Linked DNA regions of Homo sapiens: region 2 is linked to region 1. Evidence: promoter capture Hi-C in human tissues and cell types (Jung and others, 2019). All regions are on one chromosome and are shown on one strand. Each heading gives the region's core, a stretch centred on a gene start or on the middle of the fragment in contact. The rest is flanking DNA. Distances are from core to core; before and after follow the strand shown.

Evidence for each region. Contacts are between HindIII fragments. The study calls those that stand out against the background at their distance.
Region 2: a fragment that was not itself captured here is called in contact with the fragment with the promoter of SNAP25 in region 1 in 2 of the 25 tissues and cell types used here (mesendoderm cells and stomach).

Annotation. Positions count from the first base shown.
Region 1 is chr20:10,217,433-10,223,382 of GRCh38, reverse strand. SNAP25 (synaptosome associated protein 25) reads right to left here and starts at 4,553. Exons shown (of 8, transcript NM_130811.4): 1 at 4,406-4,553. SNAP25-AS1 (SNAP25 antisense RNA 1) reads left to right here and starts at 3,877. Exons shown (of 5, transcript NR_040710.1): 1 at 3,877-4,146. The HindIII fragment of the contact is 5,357 bases long and covers 1,414-5,950 here.
Region 2 is chr20:10,345,607-10,351,290 of GRCh38, reverse strand. It overlaps the pseudogene RPL23AP6. Among named protein-coding and RNA genes, the nearest start is that of MKKS, 86 kb to the left of the region's middle. RefSeq lists an enhancer at 196-425. The HindIII fragment of the contact is 3,141 bases long and covers 1,781-4,921 here.

The DNA of each region.
Region 1 (5,950 bases), core at 3,304-5,803:
CCGTTGCCATTTCTTCCTCTACATGAACCCACTGACTATTTTGGCTTAGCAATTCTGTCAGCATTTGGATTTTTGAAGCTCTTCTGTGAGAGTAGTAACCACAAGGTTAGAAAGGAAATGGGTGTAATCCAGACCTCGAGGTAGCCCTGAAGTGAGGGTAACTAGCAAGAGTCAGCAAAATAGGCAGGGAAAGAAATCTGATATACTACCCATTCCAGTTTTTCAAAATTCTACCATTCCATCTTTTTCCTCCCATTTTTAGCCACTTGGGGCTGGTCCTATATGTCATGCTGCTCAAAACATGCTCAGAAGAAATGACAACTTTTTTCATTCCTCCCGTCAGTGCACTTGACAATGCTGAATATTCACAGAGGGCAAGAGAGTGTTCAGCACCATGTTTATTATTCAAGTGCACCTTCTGGGACCTTCTGGGGTGTCTCATCACCAGATTCTTGACTTTCTTTTCAGTCTGCCTGGCAAGTGCTCAACTTGCATAATTTCATTTAGTCAATAATGGAAAATGGAAACTTGCAATTAACTTCCAAGCAGGAATTATATGTCTATGTAGGTATATGTATCCTGAAAAGTAGTCTTAAAAGATGCTTCAGTAAGGACTGATTTTTTTTCATTAACCATCTCTTATGATACCAATTTGCTCCCCTCTACTTCTGGAAGAATGCAAATTAAATCCACTCTGTCAATAGTAATTTCTGGATATTAAAAAGACCTGGTTACTTTGTTATATCAGCTTCTGCTCAGAAATCAACTTTAGAGGATAAAGTACCAAATTCTCAGCTTGACATTCAAAGCCTTCCACAGAAGGCTCCAACTCTGCATCCCAGCCTATTCCCTCCAAGCTTCCCACTCCACCCAAATCAATGGGCATTTTCAGGGTTTGCCAACTGTAGAGTGGGCTTGCCTAACTTGATATTCTGCATATGTTGTGACTTCAGCTTAACAGAACTCTCCCACCTCTCTGCAACCTCCAAAAGCCATCTCAAGGCCTGCCTCTTCTCTCAGATTGTTCCAGTCCACTGCGATATCGCCCTCCTGATTTTATGTTACTTATTGTTGGTTACATTCACTTGGAAATTAATCACATATGTCCTCAAAATTTGTCTTCTAATGTTTTATTGCATTTAATTCTGGTTTTATTTATTAACTTATTGTTTATTGCTTTTATTAAGATTGCTAGATGCTAAACTTATTGAGGTCAAGACAAAACCATGAAATTTTATAACTCCCATGGGATTCATTTCTGTATCCGGTGAATACCGATTGATCAGTATCTTCCTATCAGGTTGGTACTTGCTGACAAGGGATGACATTGCAGAAAGTATCCAGCGCTGAGGCTTAAAACACAGATTTTTCCTTCTTTTATAGAATTGTAAAGCAGTCCCATAATGTGAGAAACATTGTTTATTCATAGTGAATTATCTAAAAAGCATATTTTCTATTTTTCTCCTTCATGTCTCCTCTCTCAACCTCTTTCTCAGATTATTTTTCTCGTTTCTACTAATCGTCAAAACCTACGTGTTATGCTGAAGGCTGACTGCTTACGCAGCTTCTAGGTGTCACTGGCAGAAACATGTCTTTCAGCTGATAACCCTCACTCAAGGGTTAACATTTAGAGCTTGGGAATATCTTTAGACAAGCTAATTAACGGGTAGTTTGCATTGTGTTTGTGCATGTGTGGTTGTGCGTGTTTAACAAAGTAAAAATAAAATTGTGAATTCTTGGGAGATTTTGCCATGAAGAGGTTAAGAGGATTGTAAATTGTTCTGTAATTTGAACACTGAGGTGGTAATGCAGTAAATGCCGATGAACAAACAGGCATCAGAGGGTCTGTGTGAATGACTCCTGGCTCATCCTATGTCCATCTGCTCCTGCCTCTTCTCACCGCATTGCCCTGGATTTTAAAAATTCTAACTTAAAATGGGAAATTTCTCGATTTTTTTTCCCTGGAAGCTTGTCAATGATATAAATGTTAAATTCATGGTTCAATGATATATTTTTTAAATTTCTCAGTAAGCTATTCTAAAATTAGCTTTCTAATTGTGCACATTGCTTCTTCCTCTCAGCTCTGTGCCCTTTGCCATCTTCACTGCGGTCCTCTACTTCCCCCGCTCCTCCCCAGTCTTCCACTAGCAAACAAACCCAGCAGTAATTACTAATGTCCAAGCACGTAATTCCGGCAGCATTAGGCTTTTCATTTGACGCAACTACGCAGACAGCTGTCTGGACATGCAGCATGAAGTTAAAGCATTTTTAAAGATTCCTGCCCATATTTTCTCTCCTCCACTACTAAAACACAGTTGTTTATTTTTGTCTGCAGATTGCAAAGTTATAAACTTCTTTTATACGTTTACATACTCATATATAAATGTCCACCCAAATAATTTTACATCCATGCAAAATAACAGATCAACATATACATACATGGAAACACATGGTCATCTATAAAAAGAAAAAACACTAGGAAATAATTAAATAGCAGCGAATGAAATTACCTTCTGTATATGGACAGGGAATTTTAGTGTCTGTAGCATACAGATGATAGGAGGTATGACTATCTAAACACAATCCAAGTTCTCATTTGGGGTCTTTTAAGGGGATCATGATAGCGTTTCTTTAATGCATTGTATAGATTATTACATATGACGCTGTTACTCTTTTTTGCTAATGACTCAAATGGCATAATTTTGACTCTGGTCATTTTTATGCCAGTTTTATCTACATCAAACAGAGAGAAATACCCCTGATGACTTTTGCTCTCTCAGATGCTCCAAGCCTCAGAGTAGAAAATGGTTAAAGTAGTTATTACCACCTCAGCAAAATCCCGCAGTGCCATAAGAGAAATTGCAGTAGACCTTTAGGTCAGAGTTAAGTTCTAGTTTAACACCATGGTTCTTTACCTGCATTACCCTGAAGGACACACTTGGATTCTCCTGAGGAAGGCCAGTCTTAATATTGTCAAAATCTAAAGCTATCAGCCTGCGATAACCAGTGCTGATAGCAAATACTTCCAGTAACTCTGAAACCGTGGCCAAAGAGGTTAAATCTATTCAGTACAGGACCAGTAAAATTTCTCAGATATGTGTTTTTGTGGATGAATGCTTGTATTCATGCCTGATTGCAAGGATGGGGGAAGAAGGAAAAGGAAGAGTGATTCATTCTTAAAGTTGATTCTGCTTAGTTCAGCTAATCTCACATTTTTATCAAATGGAAACATAGAGAGAGATGTATCATCCCTATAAACAGATAGCATTGGCTTCTTCATATATACAGTACTTATGCTCACCCAAGATCTGTAGACAGATCTACTCTGTGTTAAAAAACAAAACCAAACAAAAACCTTGATACCCTGCTGGAGGATAAATCCATATTTTTTAAAAAATGTATTTATTTTCTACGTAAAATAAGGGTCAGAGGGCAACACAGAAGATTTCCACAAGTAGACTATTTTGTTGAAGCTATGCAGGAGGTGAGGAGGGGAACAGGAAATTGTCTGCAAAGGAGTCTCTGTGAGGAAGATTTATTTCTTTCTTGTTTTCTTTTAAGCTACTATGACTCCTCTATTAAGGGTCTCCGTAAGACCGGGGTCTCAGGGAGACAATTTGGTCTCCAGCCCTGGCACATCCAGCCCCGGCCAGGCATTTCTGCCGCAGGCAGATGAGGCGCTGCGGCCGGACCGCTGTCCCCGGTGCTGAAAGGTCGAGGGCGCCCGCGCGAGCCCTCGGTGTTGCTATCCAGGGTGCTGAGCGCGGGCCGCCGCAGTCCCCGAAGCCAGCCCACCCGCGCCAGCCCTCCGCAGAGCCCTCCCACCCGGCACGACCCGCCCGCCTCCCGCCAGCCTGCAGTTGACGTGGAGCAGGCGGCATAAATCAAGTCCGCGGGGCATGGAGGCTGCTGTCGCTGCAGCAGCTCAGCTTGCCCGGGGCGGGAACTCCCCCTTTCTCCTTTCGCCTCCCCAGCACCCACACCCTGTCTCCCCCTTAATTCTTCCCTGGATAATAGCACCCTAACGACAACAGTCATAATAATAGGGTTAGAACGACAGGGGAGGAAAACTCAACAGCCTAAATATCTCTGAAAACTGCATCGCAAAATGGAAGAAAGAGGGGGTCCCACTACTGTTTCAAAAGAGTAAGTTATTATTCGGTACGTACCCTCGCTCTTCCTCCCCGTCGCTCCATTTGCAGGGCTCCCGTTTCCCTTTTCCCCAGCAGCTCACCTCGAAAACACTTTATAAAGCCCCCACCAGACGTGCACACACGGAATACCGCACCCTAAGTGCACCAATACTTGTATTTACCCAAGCCCACTCGGACTGCCCAGCTGCTGTCCCTTCTGGGTATGCAGCCATCCCGAGCCAGAGCCACGACCTGGGGAGGGGGGTTCTTACCTGGGCTTCTCGGGAGGGTTGTGTTCTCCGGGCCTCTGCAGGTTGCAACTGTGGTGGAGCCGCCGAGCAGGGAGGGAAGGAAAGACAGCGCCTGACCTCCCCGAGGTTTCGTCTTCAATGCAACGTGAGCTCTGCCCTCATCAAAGATGGCCGTCCGTTTTGACGTCAGCAGCTTTTAATAGCCGCCCAGCGAGGGGCGGGAGGAAGTGGGGGCGGGGCACGGCGGGGGCGGGGGCGGGGCCCGGGCTGCGGCGCGCTTGACTCGGTTCCCAGTGCGCTGGCCTGCAAACCTGCGTGTTTTCACCTTCTATAAACACCCGCACGGGGCGACTCTTATGACTCCATTTTAACACTCGGTCTTGGGCAAACGCGTTCATCCCGCAACTGCATTCCTGATGTTCTTTGGTGTGTGTGCGTGTGTGTGTACATATGTGTATATGTGTGTGTATGTATATATGTATGTGTGTGTATATTTTATAATACATGTATAATATATGTATAATTTGTGTGTATGTGTATATATTCCCCCCCACCCCCACCCCCACCCCCTTTCAGTGGAATCTGTGGTTGAGTCATCTAAGGAGAGGGGAAGGCAGAGGAGGGGTAAAAGGTAGTGATGGGAGGGGTGGGGGAAATTTCAGCGGCGATTTGTTTTCTCCGAAGAGGGTCCGTAGGGGCATCCCCGTCCACCCTCGCCAGCTCCATATATGGCCAGGCTACGTGGGTTGCTATTTTTATGAGTGATTGCTTCATGTTATCGAAGCAGCGTCGAGGGCTTGTGGCTCTCGTTGCTGTGGTCAGCCGGGCAGCGAGGCTGGCGCACGTTATTTTGAACTACGTCAGAGCCAGGCTCTCTGAGCTGTTGCAGGAGTCGGGGGAAGGAGAAGGGAAGCGGAGTTAGCCCAGCCAGCGTGGGTTTGCAAGGACTCGAGGCTTGAAGTTGAGTTGTTTGCCGAGGGCAAAAACGGATGACTCTGCTTTCGGTGGAATTTGCAGTCGGTGCTGGGGTTTCATGCTGGGTGTCTTAGGGGTACCCCACGGAGGCACAGACGCCCCGAGGGAACCGTCCAAACGGCCGGGAGGAGGTGGGGGATTCAGAGCAAGGACGGCTGGGACACGGCCGAATCTGGGGGTTCACTCAGTGCGCAAACCCCGGGGTACCCGTGCAGGCTGCCTCGGGGGGCCCTCGGATGCTCAAATCAGGGCGGGGAGACAAAGGCTACTTGTGCTGGTCGTATTAGAGATTAAAAGTGATAATTATAAAGCAACAACCCTAACTGTCCTCCCTGGCCGTGCCCGGGCCCGGGAAGGGGGTGGTGCGCGGATCGCTCGGCGGTGGCAGCCTCCCGGATGATTCACAGGTGTTGGGGAGGCTGTCGCGGGGCTCTCCGCAGGGAGGGAGGGCTGGGGAGCGCGTGGGAGGTGGGGGACCTCGTCTGAGGAACTGTTTGTACTTTTCCGGGAAGGATGCGATTAGAAGTCGTGCCTCGCAATGTTAAAACTTGATGGCCTCTTTTAGGCTATGGAAAATCCTTGTCTCGCTTA
Region 2 (5,684 bases), core at 2,102-4,601, 130 kb before region 1:
TGCCTACATAATAAAACTTCAATAAAAGCTCTGAATGATGAGGTGTGAACTGCTTCCCAGTTGGTGCACACATTGATGTACCAGGAGGGTGGCAGACCCTGGCTCCATGGGGACAGAAGCTCCTGTGCTCAAGACCCTTCCAGATCTTGCCATCATATGTTTTTTCATCTGACTATTCATTTGTATCCTTTATGGGAAAAGAGTAATTGTAAGTACAGTGTTTTCCTGAGTCCTGTGAGTCATTCTTTCACAGGGTGAACCTCAAGGGGGTGCAGCCTGGGAGGTCACATGGGTTCTTGCCTTCATGCAGGAAGGAAATCAAAAGTGAGATGACAGAGTAAAGTGAAAGCAAGTTTACTAAGAAAGTAAGGGAGTAGGCCAGGCGAAGTGGCTCACGCCTGTAATCCCAGCACTTTGGGAGGCTGAGGCTGTTGGATCACGAGGTCAGGAGTTCGAGACCAGCCTGATCAACATGGTGAAACCCCATCTCTACTAAAAACGCAAAAATTAGCTGGCACACACCAGTCGTCCCAGCTACTCGGGAGGCTGAGGCAAGAGAATTGCTTGAACTGGGGAGGCGGAGGTTGCAGTGACTGTACTCCAGCCTGGGAAACAGAGTGAGACTCCATCTCAAAAAAAAAAAAAAATCAGAAAGTCTTACGGGGGCAAAAACCAGTTACTGCATTGTGAGGGCTCAATTGGCAATGTATTCCTGTTTAGTTTCTCCCTCTTGATTCCCTGATCCCCTGTTCCCCTCCAAACCGCCCCCATCTGACACTCCTGCTTCCTGGAATTATTTCCCAAATAAACTACCTATATGTTCTCAGGCTCTGCTTTCCAAAGAAACCAGGCCATGATAAGATATGGCTAACCTCAGCCGGAGGGATATTGATGTTACCTTAATGACAAAATGGTACAGGGATGAATGGGTTCTTGCTAAGTTTACTGCTCCTGTACTTTGACTTGTGGTGAAAGAAAATATGTTGAAACTAATTAAAATGGTTTCACATCATGAAATTTTTTGAAAGAAATGACCTCGAGCTAATAACATCTGAAAAATGAATAATAGGACAATTGAAAAAGTAACAATGAAGAGTGTTCTTTAGAATTTATGGAAAAATTAATACGAAGGGATTCAGAGTAGATAAGATATCCTTTTATGTGAATTTAAAATATATTTTATTACAGAAGGATTAGGATAAAAACCTTTGATAAGTTGTCATCTGGCTAAGGAAGGACAGTGGCCACATCATGCTGATATTTGCATCCTCACCATTTGGTGCCTGGAACATAATAGATATTTTAAAAATGTGTGTTGAATGAATAGAATCTTAATATTGGTAGTTAGACATTGTAATGGGTTGCATCGTGGCCATGAAAAACATGTCCAAGTTCCAACTTCAGATACGTGTGAGTGTGAATGTGATCTTATTTGGAAAAAGAGTCTTTGTTGGTGTAAATTAAGTGAAGAATCTCAAGATTAAACCATCCTGGATTAACTAGGTGGGCCCCAAATCCAATGACAAATGTGCTTATAAAAAGAAGAGCAGAAGCAGACATAGGGGAGGACCATGTGAAGATGGAGGCAGAGATTGGAGTTGTGCAGCTACAAGCCAAGGGATGCCTGGAGACATCAGAAACTAGAAGAGAGCTTTTCACAAGATGGTGCCAAAGATGAAGAAGGAAGCTTCCGTCCCTCCTAAAGCCAAGGCCAAAGCAAAGGCTTTGAAGGCCAAGAAGGCAGTGCTGAAAGGTGTCCACAGCCACATACACACACACATAAAGAAAATCTGCACGACCCCCGCCCACCAAGACACTGTGACTTCAGAGGCAGCCCAAATATCCTCGAAAGAGCACCCCCAGGAGAAACAAGCTTGGCCACTATGTCATCATCAAGTTTCTGCTGACCACTGAGTCTCCCATGAAGAAGACAGAAGACAACAGCACACCTGTGTTCATTGTGGATGTTAAAGCCAACAAGCACCAGATCAAACAGGCTGTGAAAAAGCTCTGTGACATTGATGTGGCCAAGGTCAACACCCTGGTTAGGACTGATAGAGAGAAGAAGGCACATATTCTTCTGGGTCCTGATTATGATGCTTTGGATGTTGCCAACAAAATTGGGATCATCTAAACTGAGTCTGGCTGGCTAATTCTAAATATATGTATCTTTTCACCAGAAAAAAGAAACTAGAAGAGACAAGGAAAAATACCCCCCTACAGCCTTGGAGGGAGTGTGGCCTTGCTAACAGCTTGATTTCAGACTTACAAACTCTAGAACCGTGAGAGAATAAACTTCTGTTGTTTAAAGCCACCAAGTTTTTGGTAATTTGTTATGGCAGCCCTAGGAAACTAATACAGAGGTATGAAAAAAAAATGGTGAAAGCTAATGGAACATAAACAATGATTTCAACCATAAAAACACTCAACAAATATTGATCAAGCCTTCACCAAATGCCAGGGACTTCTCGAGGGAAACAGCAGTGAGCAAAATATATGGAGGCCTGTGTACTCACAGTGCTTACATTCTAGCAATATTCTGGTCAGAGAAGCCAGCTTATTCAAAACCTTTACTCTTAACCGAGGCGTGTGTATGTCTGTACCTACATCAGGACCAACTTTACACAACTAGTGGTAAAGAATTTAGAAAATAAAGATTACATAACAACAAAGGAAGCACTTACCACAGAGGACTCAAGCTCCAAATTTCCAGATGGGATATATTATTTTTTAACAAGGATAACAGAAGAAAGACATTCAGAGTTTTTTGACCTTCAGATTTCCATGCAGCTCATGAGATAGATTGGAATTGTCTCCTTGGTTGCAACAGAAGGTTTATCTTCTATAAGCGAACGCAAGGGCTTTGGCTAAAATGTAACTGTATTCCAGTTTGGGGAAAAATAACTCAAGGAAATTTTTCTTAAACTTGTTTTTCTACAATACTTTTAAAAAATATTATGCATCTTAAACTTTTGACAGGTGCCATTGATTATCTGCCAGAGAGGACTAGCCGGTAGCTAGAAGAATGATCATACAACAAACCAATATTAAGGGATAGGTTTGATTCAAAAACCTATGAATCAAATGTGTGTGTGTGTGTGTGTGTTTGGATTTTTACACTTGCGATCATGACACTATTGCCTTTCATGCTGTGTAAATTTAATTAAATGTAATGACCCTAATCAATATAAACTTAAAATAACCAAATATAATTTTGTGTTAAAGTATTATCTGTGTGATTGGAATACAACATAACAATACTATATTCTGCAAGAAGCACTTTGGCTTCCAGTGGCTCTAATACTAGAACAATTCTGAGGCCTGCTTTGTTAGCATCAATCAGCAAGCAGAGCAAAGCTCAGAAATGCTGGACAGAGAAAGCATAAGATCAAATCTGAGAGAACACTTAAAGATGAATCTGAAAACTTCTTTACCTTTTAATATTAATATGTCAGGGTTAAATCATGAATGTATTTCATGTATGCAGGTTCAACTTGGCAAAAATAAATAAATAAACAACTTTTTAAATTTTAAATTGCAACTGCTAATCCACTAATTGAGAGTGAGTCCTGTGGTCAAGGTGAGATAGGAAACTTTGTACCCTCAGCCTCCTCAGTCTCTGAATGCCTCTTGTGTGTGTGTGTGTGTGTGTGTGTGTGTGTATGTGTGTGTCTGTGTGTCTGTGTAGCTAAGTTAAATATAATTCTTGTATTTAAAATTATGTAATTTTTCATAGAACATGTCCTCTGATTCTAAGCCCACTATTCTCCCCAGCTTTTAACCAGACCTTTCACTGTGTTCAACATCTTGAAAGGGATATAGACTGTGTTTTAGGGGTAATTTGAGGGGTTTTTCAAAAGTAAATTGGCTCTGGAATTTCTGTCTCATATAGAATCTAAATGAGAACTAGAGAGAGAGAGAGAGAGAGAGAGACTCTGTTGAACATTATATGACACAGCCAAGAATATGAAAAATGATGACAGTCGCCCCAGCAAACAGCTTGACTGCAATCTCGTGAGACACCCTGAGCCAAAACTATGCAGCTAAGCTGCTTCTGAGAAACTCTGAGAAAATAAATGTGTGTTGTTTTAAGCTGATGAATTTCAGAGTAATTTGTTATGCGGCAATAGATCACTAATACTGTGTCATAGATTTGAAGAAGAAAATGTAGAGTCTTTGCCTTTCTATATTTTGAAATCAAGATGAAAGAAATATGTGCAAAAAAAAAAAAAACCCTATAAAACAATGTGAGAAATGCCATAATAGGAGCAAGTCATTAATAAGCCAAATAGTATTTAGGAGGAAAAAAATGGTTACTCCATTTCTGATCACTAGAGGACTACATTATACTCCACTAAACAAAGAATAATCTGCTTTCAGCAAAAAGTTTCCTAGTTTTGGGAAGTCCAAAAGGACTATTGCCAAGGGAAATCCAGGTTATAGTAGTAAGAAATGGCGGAGGGGAGGAAGAGCTGAGAAGCACACAGGAGGGCCACTGACACTTATTGATTACTTATGGCTCATGTACTTTATCCACATTTTCTTATTTGATCTTCACACCAATTGTATGAGTTAGATCTAATTTTCTTTATCTTATAGATGGACACTATCTATACCAAGGAATGAAACCTTTTGTTTTTGGAATATTCTATAGCATTTGGCAAATTTGGTCACTAAGACTATGCTGAAAGTCAGACTCTCTGGCCTGTAATAGATGGTGACCTGAATTTTATTACTAGTCAACTGCCATCAGAGAGGTATGACAGTTTCGTAGGGGTTGGGCAGCTATTTCAAGAAGGGTCAGGAATTAAACAATGAGCAAAAGTAACGTAATCAATAGGTTTTTCTTTCTGCCCAGTTCTCTAACTTTATAGGTGAACAATACTTTCCAATCTTATTTAACTCTCCTGAAGTACTCCAAGTGGATATGTTCACTATAATCTTTACCTTGACAGTTATGATTATGTCCACATTTTTAAATCACTTGAATAATTAAGAATAAGCACAAGACATTTACCTTCCAAGAAAAAATTATCAACGGCTTAAATTTCTTTGAGAATATGCACTACAGCATCACTCTTATTGCTAATGATTTATAATTCTGTAAAATTAGACTTGTAAAACAGAAATGAAAGGAAAATGGTTATTACCAGGTGAGGAACGGTTAGAAGTTGGCCTAGATAATTGTATTGCTAAAAAGCCATTTGCTTCTTGTTTTAGTCTGTTTCATGCTGCTTTAACAGATTACTGCAGATTGGGTAATTTATAATAAACATACATTTATTGGCTCACACTTCCAGAGGCTGAGAAGCCCAACATGAAGATTCCAGCATCTGGTGAGGACCTTCTTTCAGTGTTAAAACATGGCAAAAGTCATCATATGGTAGAAGGGCAAAGAGATCAAGAGGGCCGAACTTGCCCTTTTATGTCAACAGTAATCCCACCTATGAAAGCAGATCCTCATGGCCTAAGCGCCTTTTAAAGGTCCCACCCTTAATACCATTACAATTAAATTTCAACCTTACTTTTGCAGGGGACAAACATTCAAATCACAGCACTTCTATACCTTGAGAAGTGCTGAAAGGTTACTCCTCAAATGATTTCTTAATTGTTTTGTTAAAATACCTATAATACCTGTGACCAGAGTCACTGCTTTTGTAGTTTTGTGAGGTTTGATCCTTTAA